2 separate regions of the Homo sapiens genome follow, and region 1 is linked to region 2. The links are contacts of gene promoters, found by promoter capture Hi-C in human tissues and cell types (Jung and others, 2019). All regions are on one chromosome and are shown on one strand. The core of a region is centred on a gene start or on the middle of the fragment in contact, and the rest is flanking DNA. Distances in the headings are between cores, read along the strand shown. Region 1 has its middle 12 kb from the start of ABCD3. Region 2 holds the start of DR1 (down-regulator of transcription 1).

The links. Contacts are between HindIII fragments. The study calls those that stand out against the background at their distance.
Region 1: a fragment that was not itself captured here is called in contact with the fragment with the promoter of DR1 in region 2 in 1 of the 25 tissues and cell types used here (hippocampus).

Annotation. Positions count from the first base shown.
Region 1 is chr1:94,403,994-94,408,125 of GRCh38, reverse strand. It overlaps a transcript of ABCD3 not described here and the pseudogene RPL21P26. Among named protein-coding and RNA genes, the nearest start is that of ABCD3, 12 kb to the left of the region's middle. The HindIII fragment of the contact is 6,783 bases long and covers 1-4,132 here.
Region 2 is chr1:93,343,723-93,347,351 of GRCh38, reverse strand. DR1 (down-regulator of transcription 1) reads right to left here and starts at 1,445. Exons shown (of 3, transcript NM_001938.3): 1 at 487-1,445. The coding sequence starts at 706. It overlaps CCDC18-AS1 (CCDC18 antisense RNA 1), which reads left to right and starts at 1,541. Exons shown (of 9, transcript NR_034089.1): 1 at 1,541-1,628. RefSeq lists enhancers at 606-815, 876-945, 1,315-1,850. The HindIII fragment of the contact is 15,958 bases long and covers 1-3,057 here.

The DNA of each region.
Region 1 (4,132 bases), core at 21-2,520, 1.1 Mb before region 2:
GTTTATTTACTTAACTTCTGCATCTCTTAGAGAATGAGTTCCTTCAGGAAAAGTTCTGTACGTTTTTTCTGCAAAGGGCCAAGTAATAAATATTTCAGGCTTCATGGGCCAGAGAACCTCAGCCACCACTATTCGGCTCTGCCGTTGTATCAGGAAAACAGCCAAAGACAATAATATAAATGAATCGGCATTGCTGTGTTCCAATAACACTTTATTTATGGACTCTGAAATTCGAATTCCCTGTAGTTTTCAAATGTCAAGAAATATTATTTTTTGTTTGTTGTTGTTTCTTTATTGACCATTTAAAAATGTAAAAGCCATTCTTAGCTTGCAGGCCATACAAAAACAGAAGGTAGGCCAGATTTGGTCCACAGGCTATAGTTTGCTGACCATCGCTTTAGCAGCAGGAATGAATTGATTATAAAATAACTACCAAGAACAAACTCGAGATCCAGATTCCTCAGTTTTTAGTCTAGCCTGGTGCTCCTGATGAGCTGGATAATATTCACATACACAAATCACAACCAGTTGTAAGATACAATGGTTGAGAAAGCCCCATTTATAATAGAAACAAAAAAGATAAAATATTTAGGAATAAACTTACAAGAAATGTGCAAAACCTATATGAAGAAAATTACAAAACATTCCTGAAACACAGAAAAGAAGACTTGAGCAAATAGAAAGACACCCCTTGTGCTTGGTAATCCCAGCGCTTTGGGAGGTCGAGGCGGGCGGATCACCTGAGATCAGGAGTTTGAGACCAGCCTGACCAATATGGAGAAACCCCATCTCTACTAAAAATACAAAATTAGCCGGGCATGGTGGTGCATGCTTGTAATTCCAGCTACTCGGGAGGCTGAGGCAGGAGAATCCCTTGAACCCAGGAGGTGGAGGTTGCGGTGAGCTGAGATCGGGCCATTGCACTCTAGCCTGGGCAGTGAGAGCAAAACTCCGTCTCAAAAACAAAAACAAAAACAAAAGGATGTTTCAATATCATCAGTATGTCAGTTCTCCCTAAGCTAATTTATAAGCTTAATGCAATTTTAAGAAAAAAATCCTATGAGGTTTTTTGTTGTTGTTGTTGTTGTTGTTGTTTTTATGAAGGTAGACAAGTTCATCCTAAAGTTTATAGGGGAAAATAAACATCAAAGAGCAACTGAAAAGGCAGGTTATAGCCCCACTAGATAGTGAAACATACTATAGCCTTTTGGCTGTAACCACCATCTTTCAGTCATTCGCCAAGATGATGAACACAAAGAGAAAGAGGAGAGCCACCCAATACATGTTCTCCAGGCTTTTTAGGAAACATGGCATTGCTCCTTTGGCCACATACATGCAAATCTATCAGAAAAGTTAAGTCATAAACATCAAGGAGATGGGCACTTGTTGAAAAAGGAACACGGCACAAGTGTTACCATGCCATAACTGGAAGTCTACGATGTTCTCAGGATGTTGTTGACATTGCTATAAACCAATACTTTAAGGACAAGATTCTTATCAAGAGAATCAGTGTGTGTACTGAGCACATTACATCATTACATACTCTAAGAGCTGAGATAGCTTCCTGAAACGCAAGAAGGAAAATGATCAGAAAAAGAAGGGAGCCAAAGAGAAAGGTACCTGGATTCAACTGAAGCGCCAGCCTGTTCCACCCAGAGAAGCACACTTTGTGAGAAAAACTGGAAAGGAACCTGAGCTGCTGTAACCTATTCCCTATGAATTCATGGCATAGTAAGTGTAAAACAACAACAACAACCCACTGGACTGTAAAAAAAAAAAAAAAAACAAAACAAAATACTATAAAGACTCTATCATTAAAACAGTGTGGTACTAGTACATGAATAGACAGATCGACAGAATGGAAAGTCCAGAAATGGAGACAAGTGCATATAAAAATTTAGTGTATGATAAAGGTAATATCCCTTCTCACTCAGGCAAATATAGTTGTTTTTTTTTTTAATAAATGGTGTTGAGATCGCTGGATAACCATTTGAAAAAAAGTTAAATTCCTTCCTCAGACCATACACAGGAATAAACTCCACATGGATCACAGATATAAATGTGGAAAATAAAATTACACAAGTACAACAAGAAAACATGGGTAAATACCTCTGTAATCTAGATATCAGAAAAGGTTTTCTGTTACTAAAAATTCAAATGCACTAAAAGAAAAAATTGATAAATATAATTTTTAAAAATTTCTAAACTTTGGCATGCCAAAAACCATAAGCAAAGTCAAAAGGCAAACAACAAACTAGAAGAAAACATTTGCAGCCTACATTGCAAATAAAAAATCAGTATCCCTAACTGATAAAGAACTTATAAAACTTAAGGAAAAAGACCAAAAATCCTACAGAAAAATAGGCAAATGACAAGAACAGACAATTTACAAAAAGAGATACAAAAGCTGGTCTTTAAACACGTTGGAAGATGTTCAACATCGCTCCTAATAAAGAAATGCAAGATAAACTATACTAAAGTCAGTTTCTCACCCACAACTTTAGCAAAAAAATTCAAAAGCTTGATAATGGCGGTGTCTCATGCCTGTAATCCCAGTACTTTGGGAGGCCGAGGCAGGTGGATCACCTGAGGTGGGGAGTTCAAGACCAGCCTGACCAACATAGAGAAACCCTGTCTGTACTAAAAATACAAAATTAGCCAGGCGTGCATGCCTGTAACCCCAGCTACTCGGGAGGCTGAGGCAGGAGAATTGCTTGAACCCAGTAGGCGGAGGTTGTGATGAGCCAAGATGGGGCCATTGCACTCCAGCCTTGGCGACAAGAGTGAAACTCCGTCTCAAAAAAAAAAAAAAAAAGCTTGATAATGTTACTATGTGGCAAGGTATGGAGAAAATAAATACCCTCATGCATTGCTGGTAGGAATGAAAAGCAATTGAGGGGAATTTGGCTACACAGATTCAAATATAAAACTATACAGGCATTTACCCTAGAGTGTTACCTTTTGGAATTTACATATACTAGGAAGTAGATACACACCCAAAAATACAAAAATGCAATATGCACAAGATTATTTTGAAATAGCATAATATTGAACACAAACCAACTGTTCAAGTATAGGACACTAATTAATCTTTGGTATATACACATAATGAGTTCTATGCAGCTACACAAACTATAATAGGGAAGATTTCTTTTCTGTTTGTTTTTTTTTTTCTTTTTTTTTTTTTCGAGATGGGTCTCGCTCTGTCACCCAGGCTGCAGTGCAGCGGCGCAATATCAGCTCATTGCAACCTCCGCCTCAAAATAGGGAAGATTTCTAGGAACTGAAATGAAATAATTTCCAGGAGGTATAATTAAGTTTTTTATAAAAGCAAAAGAGCTTATGAAGGATGCTAACTTTAACATATGAAAGAAGGGAAAATAAAGATATATACATATATTTATTTAACTTTGCGAAAAGTAATACTAGATGAAAAATCAGATAACAATGAAATTTGTGACCTACAAGGGGATGCAGAAATAGAATGGAAGGGATGTAAAAGAGTAACACTTCTCTGAGACTATCTTTTTGCATAAGCTTGACTCTTGGAAGCATGATTACATTCTACATATTCAGAAATGAAATTCAATGAATAAGAATAAGAAGGAAAAAATGAAAAACTGAAAGCAAACCACAACAAATGAAACTGATTTTATTTCATATTAATACCATAACCACACTGGAGAGAAAAAACAAGAGAGCCAAAGATGGAAGAGAGGAAAGAAGGAAGGAATCCATGTAGCTTATGAACATAATATTTGACTATACATCCTCAGTCTTGTGCAGGGTTGTGGATAAGGAAGAATTACACATGAACCCTGAACTCATTATAGTAGACTTGTTTATTCTAGTATTATGGGCAAAGTAATTCTTAAACTGTTTAAGAATTTTATTTTGGATTGATCAAATGAGCAAAGGTATTGATGTTGTTGGGATCTAGAGTTATCACTGACGAAGAAGGGACAAAAAAATTATGGAGTAGGAGAAAACCAAAAAGAATTCTGAGGGGGATGGATTGCAACTGGAAACCTCAGATGTGATTGTATAATTTGTAAAATATGTATGTGGTATGTGTATGTGTGTATATGTGATAAGTATGCATGTATATGTACTTACAGGTATACATTTGTAT
Region 2 (3,629 bases), core at 196-2,695:
TTGTATGTTAAGAATTTTTTAACTCATGTGTTCAGAAAATAAATCTTTTCCTCTACATTGGTGAAAGGTCAGGTGGGGAAGGGGGTGCTCTGTCTCCACCCACGTTGAAGTTCCTCCGTCTGAATTTTAACTTTCCAAAGGAGAATTTCTGCGTTCCTTAATTATTATCTAAGTTCAACTTCAGGCAAGTAATTCTTGTTGCTTCGGCTTACCTGGCTGTAAAGTGAGATCACTCTTATTCTTTACGTTTTGGGGACGCTGACCTAAATGTTTGCACTCCTTACATGTATTCGCTGGATGAAAAGTACTGCAAAAATGCTACAAAGGGATTGTTTTTAAAGCACCGGCTGCCTACATGCCAGTCTGGCTTTTTCATTAAGTTACTTACCAGGGAAGAGGAATGGAGGCTTTGACACGAAAGGGTCACGCGATTAGCAGACTGCTACCCTAGAACCTCATTCAAACCAGCTCTCACACACGACTTACCTTGTATGACATGCTCTGGTGAGATGGTCTTCTTTTCCGATTTGTTACAAATCTCATTGGCTTCAGAAGATATAAGGTGAATGAATTCAGTGCAGCAGTTCACCACCAGCTCTCGAGCATCGTTGGCCACCCGGACATTAGGAAGAGTCTCTTTGATCATTTTATTGATAGCAGCTCTGGGGATAGTGAGATCATCATCGTTGCCAGACGAGGAAGCCATAGTACCTTCCTGTTTCTCGCGCCCCGGCTTTTAAAAACTCCCCAGCTCTGGTCCACTACTCCACCGAGATTTCTCAAAAAGTCGCCCTCGGAGAGTGATCCCGGGGGGTGCTTTGCGAAGAGGGTGCAGAAAATGAACGGAGGAGCAGCTGGCTTGAGGGCTGGGAACACTCGCGTGTGTGAGAGATTTAGGATGAGTTTGGGAAGAAAGTGGGGGCCCGAGGATTCTAGAGAGAGCACAGCCCAGGCTGAGGAGGGGAAAGCGCGGTGGTCCGGAAATTTGAGCGGCTGGGGAACCACCTTCGTGTCTCCTCAGAGGGGCGGGCGCTGTCGCCTAACTGGTCCCCAACGGCGTCGGAGCAGAGGCAAGATCCAGGGGCACTGGCCTCGCCGCGGTACCGGGCGGGTACCCAGCGGGCTCGGCTCTATAGAGCCCGAGGCCCCGCTGCCGCTGCCGCCGCCGCCAGCAGCCGTTGCCGCCGCCTCGGCCAAACCATCCTTCAGACACCCGCGCCGCCGCCTCACAACATGTCCGCCGCTGCCGCTGCCGCTGCCGCTGCTGGAACGGCGACGGCCGCCTGGGAACTAATATGGACAGAGCCAGGCACAGTGGGAGTCGCAGTGGCTGCCGCCGTGGCCGCGTAGCCCGAACGCAGATCGTGGAAGCCGAAGACGCGGCAACGGTGGTCCCTCCAGATGCCAGGGAAGGTTTGCAGGAAGCCGCTCCCGACACCCTTTGCGCCACCGGAAGCCTCGTTCCCTCAGATTTCCCCCTCCCTCCCGGACCGACTTCCGGGTGTGGCTGCCGCCCTTCCCCCACCCACGCCGGCGGGAGCCGCCCGTTCGCGCTGCCAGCAGCTTCCGCCTGCTACGGTCCTGGCAAGCACCTCGGGATCCCATTCCTTCACAGGGACCCTAGCCAGGCAAGCGCGCGCCTCACTGTACCGGAGAGCTCCAAGCACGCGCTTGGTCTGGGGCCCGGACGCTACATCTGGGAAGGGGTGGGTGGCTGGGTAGATAGGCGAGGAAGGATCGTCTCTACCCTCTCTCAAGTAGCTGAGGCCTCCGAAACCTTCCCTAGCTGGATTTGGGGACAGAGGAGCGCTGGTATTGATAAAATAACTCTCTTTGCTATTCCTTTAGGAGCCCAAATGAGGATTGAAAGTGAGAAGAATGGGACCTGGGCTTGGGGGTGGGAGGTGGGGAAAGCAGAACCCCGTGTGCCTGTTTCTGCGTCGTCTGGAGAAAAAGCTTTTCAAGATGTCTGATAGACCTTATTCGGTTCAAAGCTCTCTAAAGTCCTTCACCTTTTTTTTTTTAAACTTCATGAAAAATGAAACATTTCAGAGAAGTTACTTGCCTAGAGGCAACTAAGTCGCCTAATGGCTAAGTAGGAAAGCAGAAGTCAGTTCCAACATAGTGGAAATGGAGTGGAAATGCATGGCATACAATGAGCTATATTAGAAGGTTCCCATTTAGACAGTTTTCATGTTGTATTCCATGTTGGCTTCTACAGGGGAAAAAAGTGTTAGAGCATCTTAAGCAACTGTTTTTACTTCTTTCCATAGTGACTAGTAATATCAACAGGTGTCAAGGTCTAAACAGAAATTGCATTTAAAAAAAAAAAAAGTGTGTCAGCCAGGCGTTGTGGCTCATCATACCTGTAAACCCAACACTTTGGGAGGCTGAGGCAGGGGGATCACATGAGCCCAGGAGTTCAAGACCCGCCTGGGCAACATAGTGAGACCCGTCCCTACAAAAAAAAAAAATATATATATATATATATATAATATATATTTATATATATAAATATATATTCCAACATCCCACTGTTTATAGTATAGCCTCTTCTATATGACAATATGAAACACGGGTTTTTTTTTCACCAGGCTTGGTGGCAGGCACCCGTAGTCCCGGCTACTCTGGAGGGCGAGGTGGGAGGATCGATTGAGCCAGGGGGTCAAGGCTGCAGTGAGTTGCGGTTGTGCCACTGCACTTCCAGCCTGGGTGACAGAACAAGATTCTTTGTCTCAAAAAAGATAAAAAAAAAAAAAAAGTAAAAAAACTGAGTCTGTCATACTGTCATGTGGAAGAAGAGGCTATACTATAAATAGTGGGATGTTGGAATTTCTAAAAACTAAACAAGACACTGTTGAAATCCATTTTGTCACTTTGGTTCATCAGATTCATTACTCTTGATACATATGATGGCAACTGGCTTGTTGACAGTGTTTTCTTAAAACGTTCTGTCTGAGCCCTATATGCTGCTCTCAAGAAGACATTACAGTTTATTATGCTATTTTTTCATTTAGCATTTTCTGCAGGACAACTTACTGGTTCTTTAATTTCTGAAGTGTAGACACTTGTTTTTCAGTGCTACTAAATTTAGTCAAAACAAAATTTCTTTGATTAAAAACAGTATTTTAATTAAATTTTCTTCAGGCTGGGCATGGTGGCTCATGCTTGTAATACCAGCACTTTTGAGAGGCCAAGGGGGGCGGATCACTTAAGCTCAGGAGTTCGAGACCAGCCTGGCCAACATGGTGAAACCTCACCTCTTCTAAAAATACAAAAATTAGCTGGGTGTGGTGGTGGGCACCTGTAATCCCAGTTACTTGGGAGGCTGAGACAGGAGAATCGCTTGAACTCTGGAGGCAAAACTTGTAGTGAGCCAAGATCGTACCACTACACTCCAGCCTGGGAGACAGAGCACGACTCTATCTCAAAAAAAAAAAAATACTTTATGAAGTGGTGGGTTTGTTTTTTTTTGTCAGTTTACTGTTGATTTAAAGATTTATTATGGTGCCTAAATTTATCTTGACCTTAACAAGTTTATCCGTCTGAAAAAGCTGGCTGGCAAAAAATGTCCCAAGTTGTCACAGTGTCACTGACCCTTATCTTGTCTCTCCTGAAAAAACTATAAC